Regions from separate parts of the Homo sapiens genome. Here regions 1, 2, 3 and 4 are each linked to region 5. The links are contacts of gene promoters, found by promoter capture Hi-C in blood cells and fetal thymus (Javierre and others, 2016). All regions are on one chromosome and are shown on one strand. The core of a region is centred on a gene start or on the middle of the fragment in contact, and the rest is flanking DNA. Distances in the headings are between cores, read along the strand shown. Region 1 has its middle 24 kb from the start of ANXA1. Region 2 overlaps PCSK5 (proprotein convertase subtilisin/kexin type 5). Region 3 has its middle 18 kb from the start of RFK. Region 4 holds the start of GCNT1 (glucosaminyl (N-acetyl) transferase 1). Region 5 holds the start of CARNMT1 (carnosine N-methyltransferase 1).

Region 1 (4,291 bases), core at 94-2,593, 1.9 Mb before region 5:
ATATGTATATATACTGAATTTTTACAATAAAGTAAGCTAGAAAAAATGTTATTAAGAAAATCATAAGGAAGAGAAGACATATTTCTTCTCAATGGAAGTGCAGCATCATAAAGGCCTTCATCCTTCTCATCCTTAGGTTGAGTAGACTAAGGAGGAGAAGGAACAAGAAGGGTTAGTGTTGCTGTCTCAGGGGTGGCAGAGAAAGAGGTAGACAGGTAGAAGGGGAGGCAGGAGAGGCAGGCACACTTGATGTAACTTTTACTGAAAAAAAATTAATGTATTAAGTGGCCGTATGCAGTTCAAACCCATGCTGTTCAAGGATTAACTGTGTATGGACTGTTTTTCACTCCTATATTTTCAGTACCTAAAACATTTCCTGGCTAAATCAATATGGTTGCATAGATAAATGAAGGCAAGTAGTATGACCTCTGAATCACTATTCTCAGCCACTGAATACTGCAGCTTCTCTGGAGACACTCAGAGACTTGGATGGATGAGGAATAAGGGTGAGGTGCTGTAAGTCAGAGAAAACTAGGATGACACACACATGAGTAAGAACAGGTTTAAATGAGATAATATTACAATATTAGAATATATGCTGATTTGTGTGCTCACCAAATGTTTGCCTTTTCAGTTCACACCTTGTCCAACTTTGTAACAGTTATGGACTTTTGGGTTTTTTTCCTCACAATAAGCCTATGTTCTGTAAGCATGAAGTTATTGTGTTTTAAGATTTTTAAAAAAATTTTACTTTAATTTCTAGGATACATGTGCTGAACGTGCAGGTTCGTTACATAGGTATACGTATGCCATGGTGGTTTGCTGCACCTATCAACCCATCATCTAGTTTTTAAGCCCTGCATGCATTAGATATTTGTCCTAATGCTCTCCCTCCGCTTCCCCCCACTCTTTTTCCTATATGTGTTAATTGGAGATTGGCTGAATTGGAAAGTTAATATTTTTGTCTATATTTAGTTTCTAGGATTTAAATACTAACTCAGTTTTGTTTCCTGGGAATAAAATTGTCTCTTTATTGTATTATAACATGAGATTTTGATGTTTTAATTTGTAGATTTAAAAGTTAATTCACACTGGTTGTGAATAAAGCATTTGTGAAACTAACATAAAAATAGTTTCCCATACAAAATATAATGTCCATGCAATATTTATTTAAAAGTTTATTTTAGCTCCGGAAAGGTGTTGAAGATTATTCTATTAAAAGTTGAATTGTGTTTGGGATATTTTCTATTGTATGGGTATAAACAATGTCCCCACATAAATTCATTCTTGAAGATAACCCAAAGCCCCTTTTACATTAATTTCTCATGTCACTTATAAAGTAACATGCAACATTTTCAATTTCTATTATTAAAAATAGTACTAAATGATTTCACATCAATTCTTATATTTGACAGAATAAAAATATAATCACCTAATTTTTGTATATATTTATATAAAATATTCCTAATTTGAATAAAAAATACTATACCACATTTACCATTTTGTATCTCTTTCTATTAAGAACTGCATCTCTATGTTTTGTTCTTAAAAGTTTGAAAGCTGGATCATCATTCTTGTAATTTTTTTAGATAATAAGAAAGATGTTAGGTATATTAATTTTGGAGTTAAAGATTCATAGTAAATATCTTTTGCAGGCAATGAATATGTAAAATTATAATCCCAGGTAAAGATAACAACCATACAAACAGGCCGGATACAGTGGCTCACGCCTGTAATCCCAGCACTTTGGGAGGTCAAGGCAGGTGGATCACGAGGTCAGGAGTTCGAGACCAGCCTGGCCAACATGATGAAACCCAGTCTGTACTAAAAATACAAAAATTAGCCAGGCGTGGTGGCATGCACCTGTAATCCCAGCTACTCGGGAGGCTGAGGCAGGAGAATTGCTTGAACCCAGCAGGCGGAGGTTGCAGTGAGCCAAGGTCGTGCCTCTGCACTCCAGCATGTGTGACGGAGCAAGATGCCGTCTCAAAAAAAAAAAAAAAAAAATCATACAAACAATAGAGATGAGGAGCGAAAAAAGTAAGATCAACTTTAACATTTTACTATATGGTAGAATGTCATTCAATGAGTCATTATATTAATTAGATTTGGAAATATAAAATTATGTACAATCAGATTTAACAAAGTAGACTAAAATATGGGTCTTATTATTAGTCCTTTATGGAAGCAAAGAGGTTCTGCCACTTGTGTGATTGTTTACTGCATTTTTTTCTTACATATAGACAACAATTCTCAAAGTTGGCTATGCATTTTGTTTTTTAGGACTGTGATGGAAATCCCTGTGTGTGCAGTTAAGAAAACAGAATTTAATATATATTAAACTAAGCAGAGGCTTTAATAGTAATCAATCAACTAAGTGTTCTTTTTATTCTTCCAGTATCCTAGACTTTCCTTATCCTCGGTTAATGTTGTACCTGGTGGTCTAAATTGATCATTCTGTGGGGGACACATTTCCTCAGCCTTGAAGGAACTGTGCTCTTGGTACCCTGCCCTCATCCTACTACAGCTGCTGTATTTACTCATTCACTTTTATCAGCAGGTGGAGAAACGTCAAGATGTATCCAAATGATCTTCCCGGGTCCATAGTTGATACTCTATTATATAAAAGCTATCCTGGGTAAACTTTTTAGAGCAGCCTACATTGACCAAGTATGAGTGGCAATTTCAGGTTCCTTTTCTGGAAAAAACAGGATGTCTAATGGAGCAAAAGCTAAAATTGTGAGGACAGAAATCAGGTGTTCTGCAAATGGTTTCCTGGCAATGAAGGCTTAGGGCCAGAGAAGACACCATGGGTGCTCTTCCCTCTGATGGCTCTTTCACTACATTCATAGCTGCCTCAGTGTGCTCTCAGTCCCATGAGACAGCACCCTGTGATTATCAGTGGCTGCTGTATTAGTTTGCTAGGGGTGTCTTTAAGACTGGGTGTCTTAAACAATAAACATTTATTTTCTCAAGGTCCAGAAGCCAGAAATGTAAGATTAAAGCATCAGCAGGTTTGGTTTTTCTGAGAAAACTCTCTCACGTGGTATGGCAAGGAGAGAGGCCATTTCTCTTTAAAGGCCCTATCTCCAAAACAAGTCACATTCTGATGTACTGTGGGTTAGGACCTTAACTTATGAATCTGGGTGAGGGACCTGCAATTCAGGCTGTCACAACCACTTTATCTGCACAAAAGGGAACTAAATATGCCTGGAAATTTACATTCCCTCAGTCATAGCTCTAAATCAATGACTGGTAGGTGCACAGGTAAGACTTTACCTCTATTGACCAATTCAGAGTTGAGATCTATACTGTGCCCAGAAATGCATGGCAGGCTTGAACAAAAGATGTACTTCATTGGAAATTGCTTGATAATGCATCCTTTATTGGTCTTCTTCTGTTATTATTCCCATTTCTCTGTAATTTCTTGGGAATATACTCTAATACATAAGTTACACACAAATTTTCATCATAAGATTTGTCTTTCGAATGCTGTTATGGGTTGAATTGTGTCCTTTAAAAATATATCTTAAGGTCCTAACCTGTAAATATGACCTTATTTGGAAATGCAATCATTGTAGATGTAATTAAGGTAGGGTGAGATAATGACACTATGTTAGAGTGGGCCCTAAATCCAATATGAATGGTGCCATTATAAGAAGAGGGAAACTTGGACACAGAGATAGAGACACTCAGGGAGAATGTTATCTGACCACAAGGACACAAAAAGGAGAGTGCCATGTGAAACCAGATGTAAATATTGGAATGGTGCATCTATAAGCCAAGCAATGGCAAAGATTGCCAGCAAACCACCAGAAGGCAGGAGAGAAGCACAGGACATAATTTCGTTTGGAGCACCCAGAGGAAATCAACCCTACCGAGACCTTAATTTGGAACTTCTATCCTCCAGAAGTGTGAGAGACTAAATTTCTGTTGTTATATGCCAGCAAGTTTGTGGTACTTTCTTATAGCAACCCTAGGAAACTAATGAAGAAACGCAACTTGAAAATAGGTTATTTCAGAAGTGGTCCTAGGAAGCATACACTTAGGAAGGGATTCTGAGTTAGATCACTTGCCATCTGGATAACAACTGGATCACACTGTTGGAGATTAAACTGTTAAAAACTGAAAACTCTAGCACTGTCATTGCATAACTTTTGCCAGTGGTGAGTTGGCATGGGATACAGATGAAAGGAGACTACACATGCATTTCAGAGCTATGGGGGGATTTATTAATTATAAGATTTGGAAATTGGTTGGTTGTTGCTAAGTGTCATTGTGCCGAAGAAGA
Region 2 (3,750 bases), core at 454-2,953, 1.0 Mb after region 5:
TGTAGTCTGTATTATAATACAGACTATATGTAAAGGCAATTCTTTGAATATTGGCTTTGATGGCTTTTTATAGACTATCCTTTTAAAACTGCTTTTTTTTTTCCTTAAGGATTTCTTTTAAACTTGGCCACTTCCCAAGACCCTTGTTCAAGAAGAATCATGACAGTCGTGCTCATCTGGGGTATTCTAGGGTGTCCTGCTTTGACCCATCCTAAGCACTGGCCATGGTTCATTGAGTGCAGTGGGGGATTGATTGTTGGAGGACACAGACATTGTTCCCAGTGTGTGCTTAGGTTTGCCATCCTGACGGTGAAATAGGGAATTTTCACAGGTGTAACACCAGCACTCCCTGCCTCTGTTTTATGGAAGTCAGCAGTGCCGAGGGTATAGATTTACCTTTAGCTCCTCTCAGTAGTTCTGCCTGATTTTTTTTCTCAGCTGACCAAGAGCATGTAGTCAGGCATTTAGGATTAAAATGCCCTCTTTGCTCATTAGACCATAATAATGGATATGATCAATGGATCTATCTTTAAGCATGAATCCACAGATAGATAACTCTGTTTGGATAGTGGCCACCTAGAGTTAGGAAATGAGTAGCTTTGTAGTTTAGAGAAGTTGACTTTTAGCCTTGGCTCTCCTTGATTATCTTTATGGTCTTTTGAGCTAACAACTGAGCTTTCAGTACTTTCTAAAAAGTCTCTAGAATGGGCATAATAATACTTCCCTCTAGGCTGGGCACAGTGACTCACACCTGTATCCCAGTACTTTGGGAGGCCAAGGCTGGAGGATCACTTGAGTCCAGGAGATTGAGACCAGCCTGGGAAACATAGGGAGACCCTGTTTCTACTAAATACATAAATAAATAGCCAGGTGTGGTGGCATGCACCTGTGGTCCCAGAAACTTGGGAGGCTGAGATAGAAGGATTGCTTTAGCCTAGGAGGTCAAGGTTGCAGTGAGCCAAGATTGTGCCACTGCACTCCAGCCTGGGCGAAAGAGCGAGACCCTGTCTCAAAAAATAATAATAATAAAATACCTCTAAAGATTATCAATAAAATGTGTAAAATACCAAGCTTACTACATAATAGATGCTACATAATTACAGTTGTTATTATTATAATTGTGTGTTCTATTCATATATCTAATTCTTGATAAATAACTAGTTAAAAATTACAGTTATCTCAAAATATGTGTGCCTATGAACACTTCAAATTTAAATTAAGACTTGGGGTTTATTTCCGGAGTTAGAAGTTGAGATAGGTTTGTCTGCGTCCTTGGGGGACTTAAGGTTTATTTCCAGGGTTAGAAGTTGAGATAGGTTTGTCTGCTTCCTTGGGGCTGGGAGCTGTGGCTCTTTTCCGTCTACAGTAAATCTGCTTTTCTTTAATTCCATTTTCCCATCTCCCTTAGTAGAGCATGAGTCCTTGAATTTGATATAAAATAGTGAAGGTGAGGAATTTGTAATTATCATCAGAATAAGGAAGTTGAGGCATGTGCTATGCAAATGCCTCCTCACTGAACAATCAGACCAGTAGGCTTCAGAACATATTTGGAATTATGTCATACTTGCCTGCGTTTGTTTATTCATTCAAGCAGTATTCATTAAGACGCTGCTTGGCGAGTGGCTCTGTGCTAAATACCTGGGGAATCAATGATGAAATAGTATAGATTATTAATGGGCTGAATTGGGAGAAAATTTAGTAAGAAACTCTAATGCCTGAAGGGTTTTTAGTACTAACAGAGGATCTAGCCTCAAAACTATGCAAATCATCTCTTAGACTTGCATGATTACATTTCTAGTGCCAAGGCTTTGGAGTGAAGGAAATCACCTCTGAAGTACAAAAGTTATAAAAATCCCTTTCTCGTCACTTTTGCAAGTTCCCAAATGGTGGTATGTCAGACTTAAATAACTGATGCTAAAGAAATAGCGTGATTAGAGGAGATCATAAAAACCCATCCTTCGATTCAGCTTTGCCTCCATTCATATTAGCTTGCCAAATAAAGCTGACTGCATTGTTCTAGGCTTAAAATAGAAAATGCCTCCCTGCAAATGAAACAGTCTGCTAGCATTTCATACTACTACTCCTATTTCCAATAAAATGAATTATTGATGTCTGAGTTATATCAGCCCCTCCCTAGGTTACTTCCTTTTAGAAGTTCTCTGCTTAAAAGTCACAGCAACATTTAGCAGGAGTTGAAACCACAGCATTATATTTTGAACGAGCGGTATGTGGGCCCAGAGTCTAATTCCTTTTCAAAATAAACCAACCTCTGGGTTAAAGACTTGTTTTCTAAAAGGAATAGATTTTTCATGTTGTTTCTTATCTCTGATTCAAGGAAGCTTTAACCAGGGTGAATGGAAGTGAATTTCGTCTAGTTCTTTAGTTTCTTGTCACACATCATTTCTGGTTTTACGAATGTTGCCATGTTGCAGAAACCAAAATGTGTCCTTCCCTTTCCCATTTCTGTAGACAAGGACTGTTGTGAGGAGATAGTGTTCCAAAGCAACCAAAAGATATAGTCAGCATTTTCCGCATATAGGGGAAATATGTTAACTTATTATAATAGTACTAGAGGAAAAAAACACACTGTAAGTCTGTGGCCTTAACACGTACAAACATTTTTTCTTTGTACCAAGGATTTGGCCAAATATGTTAAGATAAAGTTTTCCTATAGCTTAGTAGGTCAGACAAAACTTAACGAAGAAAATGAGGGTCAATATCAGAGGCTGATTTGATTTTCAAATATTTTCAAATTTTTTTCTCTAATACTTTTGCAAAATAACATCTACAGTATACTACATAGTAGATACTTGATCAATGATTATCAAATGAATTTACATAACGTGGACTACAAGTGTACATGTACATTACTAGAGGCTTAATGTATACCAAACATGCAATTGTGGAAAAAAAAAAAATCTGACACTTTCCATATACAGCTGTCTTAGTTCAGGCTGCTATCACAAAATAACTTAGACTGGGTAATTTATAAGTAATAGAAATGTAATGCTCAGTTCTGGAACCTGGGATCGAGGCACCAGCCATTTTGTTGTCTGCTGGGGGCTCAATCCTCATGAGATGGTGCCTTCTTGCTGTGTCCTCACATGGTAGAAGGGACAAACAAGCCCCTCAGGCCTCTTTAAAAGGGCACTAATCCCATTCACTAGGGCTCCACCTTCACAACCTAGTCACCACCGCCCAAAGCCCCACCTCTTAACACCAACATGTTAGGGATTAGAGTTTGACACATGAATTTTGGAGGGACACAAACATTCAGATCATAGTAACAGCCATAGATTTTATATTCATGAAAGAACCTACAGCAAATATTTTAGAAAATTCATTTCTATACATACAGGTTCACGATGCATTACACTGAAGTAAGTAACATCTTTGATCATTGTGTAGGTTCTGGGAAGTGGCCTCCCACGGAAAATTGCGGTGTAATAGGAAAAGCCTTCTTTCACCCCAGAAGCCAGCCATCCCTTCCCCTTCATCTCAACAACTGTTAGTCAGCAAGTCCTGACAATTCATACCAATTAATTCCTCCTCTGTAGTAGCTCTCAAAAGCCTTAGACACAAACCCCCAGCCACCCACAGTAGCCACTATGTTTATTCCCCTTCTCTTACCTATACCCTTGTTAAGAGTCTTATTAAATCGTTTCCTTGTTTCTGGTCTTCCCCTATCCTGCTCCCTGAGTGATATTTCTGAACCAAAATAAGAACATTAAAATCCTTTACTATCTTGAC
Region 3 (4,071 bases), core at 512-3,011, 1.3 Mb after region 5:
TTAGATACCAAACTCACCCTGCCTGACCTCCCTGGGCTGTGGTAGCTTTGAGGGGAGGAGAACAGCTCTTTAAGATCTACAAATCATGTAAGCACTGAGGAAGATGGCTTGATATGGAAGGGGAAGAATTTCAGACATGAAAAGCTTAATTAAAAGCAAGCTGGTCTTCAAGTCCAGGATATCTTCATTCCCATTTCAGCTCCACGTGACACTGGCCAACTCATTTGACATAATATATACGGGTATGCATTGTGCGTTATAAACGTGTAAACGCACATGACAATTAAGTGTCAATTTTTACTGTTGCCCTTTCTAATGGTAGTTCTTGGCCCTTTTAGGAGACGCGCCCACATTCTGACCCTGGGCCGCACTAGTGTTGTCACTCTACAGCCTACAGCTCTATACTCTTTCCAAAGCAAGGTTAGGGATGGCTTTATTGTCCCAAATCACAAATCACCCTTTTTTTTTTTCCATTTCTTCTCTGGTTCTTACTCCCTCTGTGCTAAAAAAAACAAAAACAAAAACAAAAACAAAACCACCCTGTCAATTGGTTAATTTCCCATGCAACCTGCTTGGAAGTCTGCAATGCTTTGAACAGCAGGGTGTGGGAGGAAGTGTTGGCCCTACTCACCCTGCCTGACCTCCCTGGGCTGTGACGTCAGAGCTCTGTTTACATAGCTGAGGGACTGGGAATGCTGGAGTGGAGGAAGGAGGTGATGAATGATTCAGGAGGACACACAACATCCCTGCTTTTCTTTCCTGCTGGCTTCTCAGCTGCTCCAAGCAGCAAAGAGAGAAGAAATCGTAAGATTCTGCTCTGTCATTTGGAGCCATCTGTTTCCTTTCTTTTTCCTTCCCTAGAAACTTTTTTCAATAAACAGTATAAAGGAGACACCAGAGGATGTCTACAAGAGCAAATTCATCTTTCTTCAAATGTAGACTTTTGGAAACCTTTGGCATTTACAGAAAAAGTCTCCGATGCTGCTGTTCTTTCCTCCACATCTCAAATGTACTAGAAAAGATGACATGCTTTGGAAGGCCAAGGTGGGCAGATCACCTGAGGTCGGGAGTTTGAGACCAGCCTGACCAACGTGGAGAAACCCCGTCTCTACTAAAAATACAAAAAATTAGGCGGGCGTGGTGGTGTGTGCCTGTAATCCCAGCTACTCGGGAGGCTGAGGCAGGAGAATTGCTTGAACCGGGGAGACGGAGGTTGTGGTGAGCTGAGATCGCACCATTGCACTCCAGCTTGGGCAACAAGAGATAAACTCCATCTCAAAAAAGAAAAGAAAAGAAAAGATGACATGATAAGAGGCTCCCTTATTTACTGCATCTGGCTGAGGTAAAGAGAGCTAATGATTCCTTCCAACAAAATGCACTCAATATATATTTTCTAGAGGCCAGGTGTGGTGGCTCACACCTGTAATCCCAGCACTTTGGGAGACTGAGCTGGGAGGATTGCTTGAGTCCAGGCATTCGAAACCAGCTGAGTAACATAGGGAGATCCCATCTTTACAAAAAAATTAAAAACTAGCTAAGCATGGTGGTGCACACCTGTGGTCCCAGCTACTTGGGAGGCTGAGGTGGGAGGATCGCTTGAGTTCAGGAGTTGGAGGCTGTAGTGAGCTACAATCCCACCACTGCACTCCAGTCTGGGTGACAGAGCAAGACCTTGTCTCTTAAACAAACAAACAAACAAACATCTATTCCCTAGGGACCTACAATATGCCAGGCACCACATGGGGGTGATGAAGATAAAGTCAAATAAATTGGAATTTCTTTTGGAGACTGTATGTTCTTCAAGGTCAGGGATATTATTTTATTCCACTCTGTACCCCTAGCACATAGCAGAATGCCAGCATACAATAGCTACTCCATAAATATTTAAGGAGTATGTATTTGCTCACAGAAATCATTGTCTTGACCTGAACAAAACTGGACTGTGCACATAATTTAGGGAAGAATTTACTGTGTCTTTAAAATCACATTGTTATCTTTGGCCATGATAAAAAAAAATCTCCAGCACCACAAAAACAATTGGCATTTGTGAAGCACATACTGTTTTTTAGGTACCATTAGAAGCACTTTGCATGGATCAGATAGTTTCATCCTTTTAATCATCCTAACAACCCTATGAGGTAGGCACTATTGTTATCCGGGTTTTATGGATAAGACACTAAACCACAAAGAGGTAAAATAACTTGCCTGGCTCCAGAGGCCTTGATCTTGATCTCCCGTATTGCAGCTGCCTAATCCCTCCAAAACCAAGCACAGGGAGAACAAATTAAAACAGGAACTTTTCACTTTTTTGGACCACATTCACAGTAAAAAATAAAATTTACACCAACACTTATTTATAAAACTGAAGCAAAAGTTTCAGGAAACAATATTTATCCAACCAATATATTTTCCAATGCTTTCTAGTTTATTATTATTTTTTAAAAGATGACCAAAATCCACTAATTTGATCTCACAGTATATAGTTTGAGAAACTCTAGATTAGGGAAGAGAACCCAACCCTACGTGGCTGACTCTCAGCTTGCTGTGATGAAAACATATTCTCTTTCTGAACTTTCCCTTTTGGGGCAATTCAATTGCAATGTCTGTAGTATGCCCAATGCCTCCTTTAGCAGACTGCCTCCAAGAAGCATTTCAGACCCTGAGCTTCTGGAAGTCTTTCATCTGTCCCTCTTCTGGGTCACTTTACCTCTCCAGGCTGCCATCTTGAATGGAATCTTCTGCAAATATGACTCCAGTCATATCTGCAGACCTGGTCCATGGGAAGCATGCATCTTTGTCCACCCTCAACCCCCTACAGAGAGGATGAAAGTGCTGCCTTCTCTCTTCCTGCTGTGTTCTCTTGCCAATCCAGCCACAACTTCTCATACAATTCTTATGTCCCACCTCCTAAGCTAGGGGGACACAAGTCAAGCTCCCTGATTGATACTTAAAGGGGATATAGGCGGAGCACACTGATATCTCCAAAGGAATTCTTCCCCCCTCCCCTCTTCAACTCCACTCCCTTATAAATTGAAATTAGTTATGGGCAGAAAGGGTTTCACAATCTTTTAGCATGACCTGGATTTTCTAGGACTTGGAATGTGTATCAATTTGCATCTATCACGAAGATTTTACCCTGGGCAGCCTCTTCCAAAAGTATGAAGAAATGAAGGGCTCCTTATTTGCATCATCTTACAGATGGGTAGGCATAAGTGGAGGGAATGGGAAGAAATGAGCCAAGGCTTGGAATCTGGATAAGCAATCAGAGTTTGGGGATTACTAGGGAACATGAGCTTGCTATGGAGAGTCCAGGTGTGGTAAAACTCTACAGGGAACAAAAGATAGCTATGAGTCAAAGGAATAACAACAGGTAGGCCAAGAAGCTTGCCAGGGGCTTAGATTTAAGCTTATTCTCTCCTGACATTAGTTGACTATTCTGGTCCAGTCTGTGTTCTGGATCCTTGTTACATCCCAATTCCTCCAGGCTCAGAGACTTTGTTCCTGTCCACAGTGTATCAAGTTGATTAGGGCTTATGTGTCTATGAAGTTTCTGCCTTTTTGCTGCCTCTGCTAAAAGGTTGATCTCCAACTTTGCTAACTTTATCCTGGTGCCTGAAACAATCCAGCTAGCAGCGGCAAGAGCCAAGCAAAGGATGAACTGACATGTCCTACAGAAGCTGTACTGGTGGGCCTGCAGATCGTCCTCACTTACCCTCCAGCATCCACAGCTCACAGGGACCCGAGTCCCAGATGTTCACAACTCCAGGGCATGGCAGCTAAGCCTGATTCTACTAAGATTATGTCCCTCTGAATCTAAGCTGAAGACTAAGATTTGACGCTTAGCTCTGAGGTATATTGGCTACACCGTTTGAGTTGGTCTCAGTTTATCTTTGACTTTCAGTTTCTTCTGAAGTGCAGTAACAGTGACATCTAGCTAGATGGTTCAGATGTATTGTGATGAACAATGAAGTGATATAAAGAAAAGCACGTTGAAATTCTTGCTGCTACAACTGCTGAAATTTACCAGTTCAGTAGATGAAATGGAGAAAATATACTCTCTCACCTGTTGAA
Region 4 (3,759 bases), core at 916-3,415, 1.4 Mb after region 5:
CAGCCAGCTATATTTTATTTTTAATTAATTAATTTATTTATTTTTGAGATGGAGCCTTGCTTTGTCACGCAGGCCAGAGTGCAGTGGCACGATCTCAGCTCACTGCAACCTCCACCTCCCGGGTTCAAGCGATTCTCATGCCTCAGCCTCCTGAGTAGCTGGGACTGCAGGCACACGCCACCGCAGCTGGCTAATTTTTGTATTTTTAGTAGAGACGGGGTTTTGGTATGTTGGCCAGGCTGGACTCAAACTCCTGACTTCAGGTGATCCACCCACCTCGGCCTCCCAAAGTGCTGGAATTACAGGCATGAGCCACTGTGCCCAGCCCCGGCTATACTTTAAACTTATGTTTAGCAATTAACATGTCAGTATTTTAACTTACAAATGACTCAGACATTTAATGAATATCTATTACTTAATTTAATATGTTCGAAATTTCAAGTCACCAAAAAAGATTTTTAAAACTATTTTTAAGTAGACAAATTTTATAAAACAAATTATTTTTAAAAGTTTATAAACTTTTATTCCATTTACATTTACCTAATCTACTTGCTCTTAACAATTATGCTTGAATTGCTCATGAAAAATTTCATGAGATATTAAACAAAGCTAGCCATTGAAGGAGTTCAGGAGTTTTTCCCAAAATCATTTCCTCTCCCCTAAATTGTCCCTCCCCAATGAAGAGGATACACAAGCTCCTAAAATCTCAGTTTTTGTTGGGGGAGGCAGAGGGAATATTAGTTTTTCTTTTCTGTGATACCCCCTACACGAAATCTGTGTACTTTTTCTCTTGTTAATCTACCTGCAGTCAATTTATTTCATAGACTTAGTTATCCAAGCCTCAGAGAGTAGAGGGGAAGTCTTTCTTCCTCTATACCATCATCTTATGTTAATTTTTGTTGACAAATCAGGCAAGTGTCAAACATATCACAGTCTAATGGCCTCTGAGTTGGATTTTTTTTTTTTTTTTTTTTTTTTTGAGATGGAGTCTCGCTCTGTTGCCCAGGCTGGAGTGCAGTGACACGATCTCGGCTCACTGCAAGCTCCGCCTCCCGGGTTCACGCCATTCTCCTGACTCAGCCTCCCGAGTAGCTGGGACTACAGGCGCCCGCCACCACGCCTGGCTAATTTTTTGTATATTTAGTAGAGACGCGGTTTCACCATGTTAGCCAGGATGGTCTCGATCTCCTGACCTGGTGATCCGCCCGCCTCGGCCTCCCAAAGTGCTGGGATTACAGGCGTGAGCCACCGCGCCCGGCCAGAATTTTTTTTAAACAACATGGAAACAAATAAGACCTCGTTCTGTTTTCTAGGAGCTAAAAATCCAACGAAAGAAGACACAGACACAATATTCCCCTTGTTACAAAGAGAACTGTGTCAACTTTTATAACTGACACAAAGATCTGTGCTATAAGGGCGGGGAAGGTTTTTTCCTACTTTCCACAGCACTGTGGATTGTTCCACAGTTTAATTTGATCTTAATTTTTATGTGGAAATACACATGAATGTAATGAGTTCTTAAATGCTAAATTTAGGAAGCAAGGTTCGTTAGGGGAGAGAAAAAAACACCTACATGGTTATCTCTAAACTTTACATATCGAGAACCTTGGAATTTAATTTTATTGTTGTTCTGTAACATATTTTCATGTTTAAAATCAGAAAAGGCAGCATTTCTCGAGTTTCCTGCTTTCGAGGAAGGGAGGCATAAAATGTTTAAAAAGACGCCGCTCACACACCTCTTAAGAATCAGAGCACAGTGAGGAAGAGGAGCGAGGAAGCACTAGGATCGCAGCGCTACTCCCAGACCACGTCAGTGCCCAGAGGGCGCCCTCGCCTGTAGGCGGGAACCGCGAGTCCGCAGCAAGTCCCCAGCCCCGAGCTCGCGCAGGTGGGCGAGGCGGGGACGTGGTGGGCGGGGCCTAGAAAGGCGGGGCCTCTGGGGGCGGCCCCGGGGCGGGCCACGCTGGTGTGAGGGCTGCAGGCGCAGCTCCGGAGCGCCTAGAGCGCGGCGCGGGGCGGGAGCTTGGTGGAGCAGGAGCGGCTGGGCATCCTCCTGAGACTCCGGGGTCAGACGCCCACTCCAGGTAACCGGCTCTCCCTCGTGTTCCCCTGCTCGGCCGCCCGGCGGTGGGGGAAGGCTGAGAAGGATGGGTGGGAGGGAGCCGGCTCTCAGCCAGTGCCCCGTGGCCCCGGGCGGGCTGGGCTCCCCCGCGGAGGAGGAAGCAGAACCGGGGTGCGCCCGGGACCGGAATGGAGCGGCGCCTCTTCCTTCCACCTTCATTTTCCGTCCGCTCAGTGGGGCTGGGACGCCGGTGCCCCGTGTCCCCTGAAAGTCACTTTCTGGCCTCTTGCCCCTGGTCCGTGTAGCTTAGATGTCGGAGGGGTTGGCTGCGGGCGTGGATAGGCAGGGAACGAACAGACTCGCTGCCATCCCATGGGTGCCAGGGGCTTAACTTCATTTAACTTCATTGAATCCTAACGCCAGCCCGGCTAAGATGCATTTTCACCCCTACTTTACTGATAAAGAGGCCAACGCTAGGATAATAAATGACTCACCCTGGAGCAAACTATTACTAATAAGAAAAGAGACGTTAGTTTAGGGGCTCCGAAGCCTCTCCTTTCCTGCTCCCTCGCTTTCCTTCTTCTCGCGGCAGTCTAGGAAACTCGCGCGCAGGGTCTATTACGAAAACAAGTGATTCGTCTTAAAAGCATTTTACCCCCTCCTAGGTTTCTCTTTCCTCTTTTTTTTAAGTATCTCAGGCAGATTCCTCCAAGTTTTGGTTATTAGGTTTTTGAAATGGAAGAAGCCCTTGCTCACTGCTTCTTTTCTCCTGGCAGCGCTTTCTGCGCAGCACAGGCACCCTCGCCTGTCACGCCTCCCTCTCCTCTTCCCGTCTCCCAGCGTGGATGAGGGCGCCTGCAGATCCCGGCTAGGGCACGGACCGCCTAGGCCGAGGTAGGTTCTGTAGGCACCTGGCATGCTGTAGATGCATATAAACGTTGCCCTGTACACCCTTTGCCTTGTTATTTCTTTCTGCAGAAAAGAGAGTCGGTTTTTTACACATAATGGGGCAAGAGGCCAATTGGGAAGATATATGGTGTTCAAAGAAAGCCGTGGTGCCTTGAGATGAGAATGCGGCCACAGCTTTTTGTGGGCTGAATTTGATGGGTGGGAGGTGAGAGACGTGGTCTGGAAGTTGTCTCTTCGTCTGGCATTCTGCCCCCCTTCCAGAGCTGTTCTGAAAGGCCGGTTTGTTTTATAGAGGGGAGGAGGAGGGCTTAGTAGTTTTTAAAGATCAGTGTAAATTACCTGCTAGGAGCTTAGGCAATTCCAGGCAGGCCCCCCTGCTGGAGGCTTTCGTAACAGATTTCAGTTCTAGCAGGGAGGAAAACTCAGACTGTGTAGATACCTGCTTTTTCTTAAAGGAATTTTTTTCGGGCCCTTAAAATGGTAGTTTTGGGAAACTGATTTCTTAGAAATGGCAAACTCCTTTATTTTAAAATACAATATACCAAACTATGAATTTACTTTTAAAAAGTTTTATTGGCCGAGAGGTTGATATTTTTTCCATTTCATGATGAGGGTTTGACGGTCACTGCCACCTCCTCTGCCCGTCCTTCAACTTGGCCCTGTAAAGGATCTCCTTAGCCTTGGCCCCAAGTTTGTACTAGATTCTATCCTTCATTAATTATAGTTCATTCTTGATTAATGATAGCAATGCTTCCACTCACTTTTTAAGGAGTTACTCCTTTTCCGTT
Region 5 (3,805 bases), core at 413-2,912:
TAAAGTAATGCTGTCCCTGGTCCCTATTTCTGGGTTTAATCAGTAAATTATTTCATCAAGATCTTCGAAGTTCAAAAGTTCCTATCACATATACAATCAGATTCCAAATAACTTTAAGCTTTCACTAAGCAAGCTTCTAAATTCAGACTAGTAAACTAATTTAACTATCAGTCAAAAACTTGACAGACTATTTGGGAATGAGAAATGTATTTCTTTGCTACTATTTGTTTTGTTAAAAATAGAGCTTAAACAACATATGCCAAGCACTAGTGACATAAAAATAAAAAAGACTCAGCCCCTGCCCTTGAGGAGGTCACAGCAAAGCAAGAGATTTATAAAAACAACTATAATACATAAGATGAACAATATAAAAAAACTTTGCATAAAGCACAGCAGGAACCCACCTATGGGAACAGGTTTACCTGCGTAGGAGGTCATGTCTGTCTGATTCCAACTGCAGCCTCAGAACATAGTCACCGGTGGACTCATATCTCTTACGTGAATAAAAGTGTTATCTTCACCTGAAAATCCAGTTGATTTAAGTCCCTTTCAGCTCTTGGAATTATAATTTTGTGATTAAGCTACTTTAACATCTATCTAGAAGAAACGTGGAAGTTAGGGAGCTGTTTTTATGAATGAGGAGCATAAAGGTCCTACCACAGTGCCTAGCACACCAGGGAGAATTAGATACAGATTTGCAGAAAAAAAGAACGTAAAGGCAGCTCTTATTGTGACTTCTCTCATCTCTCCTAATAATTAGCAAATTTTAGAATATCCGGACCACTTCCGCCCTTAATCACCCACCAGTTAAAGACACTGAGCAGCATCATTCAATCGCTCACACAAAAGTGCAAGTGCGTTCACAGCGCCAAAGAGGGGTGGGTGGAAATCTTAAACTGCTCTTACAAGCACTGGTAACAGTTTGGGAAAATACGTCCTACAGCATCCCACGCGTAGGTGAACTTGGGCTCTCCGTGTGTTCAGTTTGGAGGACATCGACCACACACACCAATCAGCCCAGCAGTGGACGATTGTACCACCATCGTCTTCTATCTGAAATTGTTACAGCGCTTCTCTGGTCACCCCCATCGGCCTCAAAGCCAAACCTTTACGAGGACGGAGGCAGGAGAGCTAATCTGATCCTGAGGTCAGAAGACACGAGGCTGTGCAGCAGACGGCGCGGCGGACACGCGGGTGTGCAGGGCCGGGAGGGGCTGGGGTGGTGCGAGGTGACTCGGGGCCCGGAGGTCAGCTGCAGCAGCCGGGTCCCGACGCCTCGGAGGCGTGGCGGCGGGACGGCGAGCGCCCCCGTTCCGGCGGGTCCGCCGCCACCAGTGGGCGCCCCGACGGTCTGGGCCGGGGTCCGCCACGGGCTCCTTACCCGTAGTAGCGGAAGGCATTAATGATCTTCCAGAAGTGCTCACGCTCAAGCCTCTCCTCCTCCTCCTCGGTGCTGCGCGTGGCCGCCGCCGCTGCCGCCGAAACCGCCGCGGCCGAGCCCCAACGCCCGGCGGAAAACTGCACTTCCACCTCCTCGCTGCCACCGCCTCCTCCCCCGCAGCCCTCGGGCAGCCGGGAGGTGGGCGGCGGAGGGCGACGCCGTCGCTGCATCGCCGCCGCGGCCCTCGGCCTGGCTCGCTTGCGTCTCTCCGCGACCGACAGCGTGGTGGCGGCTGCTTGGCCTTCCTCTAGACGGCGCCCGCCGCGGACATGCCCCCAGCTCGCGGCGCGCTCCGCCCCCGCCACCCTCAGGCCTCCATCCGCGCTGGGCTCCGCCAGGTCTTCAGGGCTCCCAGAACCAATGCGCATGCGTGTGCCTTGGTACGCGGAGGGCCCGTGCGGTCTGCGCTCATTTGCTGCCGGGCTTCGGAGACAGCGCGCTGACGTCACAACCACGCTTCCAAGGGCGGGGCCAAGGCCCCTTGGTGGGAGGCGGAGGAGGAGCTCGTAGGTGGGGTGGGACTGGCACTGCCGTTACCTGTGCGCGGCCGCGTGGGTGGGACTTAAAAGCCGGCGAGTGCCGGATTGTTGAGCTGGAGGCTGAACGCGGTCCCAGGCACTAGCAAAGAAGGGAAAGGCAAAAAGGAAAAGTTCGGCTTTGATGATTTTATTCGGAATTTTTATTTCAGAAAGTCTAGAAGGAACGTCTTGTATCCACCCTAATTTAAGTTTTAATTCACTTCCTAAATGAATTCCTATTTTTAATTACTTAAGGGGGTCGGAAGTGGGCGCCATCATCTTTTCACTTTTTTTTTTTTCCCCACTCTGTCGCCCAGGCTGGAGTGCAGTGGTGCGATCTCGGCTCATTGCAACCTCTGCTTCCTGGGTTCAAGCGATTCTCCTGCTTCTGCCTCCCGAGTGGCTGGGATTACAGGCGCGCGCCACCACGCCCGGCTAATTTTAGTATTTTTAGTAGAGATGGGGTTTCACCATGTTGGCCAGGCTGGTCTGGAATTCCTGGCCTCAGGCGATCCACCCTCCTCGGCCTCCCAAATTGCTGGGATTACAGGCGTGAGCCATCGCGCCCGTCCCATCTTTCCAGTCTTTAGGGGCTTGCGGCAGTCCTAATTCCTCCTTTACTGAGGATGGCAACAGATGAGGAAAATGCAAGGACCTTCTATCCAGCACCTGGTCTTGGGAAGACCATTACACCTACCAGCATCTAAGGGTGGCTCTTGGGAAATAACTTATTCTGGGGCCGGGCGCGGTGAATCACGCTTGTAATCCCAGCACTTTGGAAGGCCTAGGTGGGCGGATGACGAGGTCAGGAGATCAAGACCATCCTGGCTTACATGGTGAAACCCCGTCTCTACTAAAAACACAAAAAATTAGCCGGGCTTGGTGGCTGGCGCCTGTAGTCGCAGCTGCTCTGGAGACTGAGGCAGGAGAATGGCGTGAACCCGGGAGGCGGAGCTTGCAGTGAGCCGAGATCGTGCCATCCAGCCTGGGCGACAGAGCGAGACAGCGTCTCAAAAAAAAAAAAAAAAGAAAAGAAAAAGAAATAACTTATTCTGTTCAATTTAATCCACCACCCAGCAAATGAGTCTTACAAAGTAATGATAAAAGGGAAAGATTGCTTTATTCGAGGGGTTAAATATGCCCAGTGACCACAAAGTCTGTTAAAAAGTTACAACCATATTGAAAGTGAAGTGGCTTCATATTTTCATAATTTAAATTAATAGTTGAAATAAAGGTAATGCTTAAAATGACAACATTTTTATATAAAAGTTTTCTAAAACGTGAGTCTATTAATAGTAATGCAGTAATACATGTTTCAAAATTCAAAAAGAAAGTGCAAAGGATTACAAATATGAATTGGAGACAGTCTCGCTCTGCTGCCCAGGCTGGAGTGCAGTGGCACGATCTCAGCTCACTGCAACCTCCCGGCCTTCCAGGCTCAAGCGATTCTCCTGCCTCAGCATCCCGAGTAGCTGGGATTACAGGCATGCGCCACCACACCTGGCTAATTTTTTGTATTTGAAAATACTAAAGTAGAGACGGGATTTCACCATGTTGCGCAGGTTAGTCTCCCTGAACTCAGGCAATCCACCTGCCTGGGCCTCCCAAAGTGCTGGGATTACAGGCGTGAGCCGCCACGCTCGGCCAAGTGTGAATAATTGTTTTACCTGTCCCTAGCCAGCTATGTTCCTCTCCAGACACAATATACCAATTCCTTGCCCATTCTTCCAGATTTTCTATCTAATGTCTATTTTTCCAAACACTAATTGTTCGGAAGTTATGTATAAACACTCATAGTAGTAGCTGTTTCTAATACTGTTCTCATGTACACATGCACAGAAGTTTT

What was found. Contacts are between HindIII fragments. The CHiCAGO score rates a contact against its expected background, and 5 or more counts as called.
Region 1: a fragment that was not itself captured here is called in contact with the fragment with the promoter of CARNMT1 in region 5 in 1 of 17 cell types (total B cells); the score reaches 7.0 in total B cells.
Region 2: a contact is called between a fragment that was not itself captured here and the fragment with the promoter of CARNMT1 in region 5, in 1 of 17 cell types (activated CD4 T cells). The highest score is 5.2, in activated CD4 T cells.
Region 3: a fragment that was not itself captured here is called in contact with the fragment with the promoter of CARNMT1 in region 5 in 1 of 17 cell types (total CD8 T cells); the score reaches 6.7 in total CD8 T cells.
Region 4: a contact is called between a fragment that was not itself captured here and the fragment with the promoter of CARNMT1 in region 5, in 1 of 17 cell types (total CD8 T cells). The highest score is 6.9, in total CD8 T cells.

The regions. Positions count from the first base shown.
Region 1 is chr9:73,125,363-73,129,653 of GRCh38, forward strand. No RefSeq gene overlaps it. Among named protein-coding and RNA genes, the nearest start is that of ANXA1, 24 kb to the right of the region's middle. The HindIII fragment of the contact is 7,110 bases long and covers 1-4,291 here.
Region 2 is chr9:76,030,678-76,034,427 of GRCh38, forward strand. The region is part of intron 5 of PCSK5 (proprotein convertase subtilisin/kexin type 5); the gene reads left to right. Among named protein-coding and RNA genes, the nearest start is that of PCSK5, 140 kb to the left of the region's middle. The HindIII fragment of the contact is 1,268 bases long and covers 1,070-2,337 here.
Region 3 is chr9:76,374,665-76,378,735 of GRCh38, forward strand. No RefSeq gene overlaps it. Among named protein-coding and RNA genes, the nearest start is that of RFK, 18 kb to the right of the region's middle. RefSeq lists a silencer at 2,656-2,916. The HindIII fragment of the contact is 3,239 bases long and covers 143-3,381 here.
Region 4 is chr9:76,457,222-76,460,980 of GRCh38, forward strand. GCNT1 (glucosaminyl (N-acetyl) transferase 1) reads left to right here and starts at 1,961. Exons shown (of 4, transcript NM_001490.5): 1 at 1,961-2,084; 2 at 2,839-2,956. RefSeq lists silencers at 1,746-2,285, 3,276-3,345 and an enhancer at 2,896-3,005. The HindIII fragment of the contact is 6,561 bases long and covers 1-3,759 here.
Region 5 is chr9:75,026,631-75,030,435 of GRCh38, forward strand. CARNMT1 (carnosine N-methyltransferase 1) reads right to left here and starts at 1,663. Exons shown (of 8, transcript NM_152420.3): 1 at 1,382-1,663. The coding sequence starts at 1,611. RefSeq lists an enhancer at 495-544 and a silencer at 1,195-1,884. The HindIII fragment of the contact is 4,364 bases long and covers 132-3,805 here.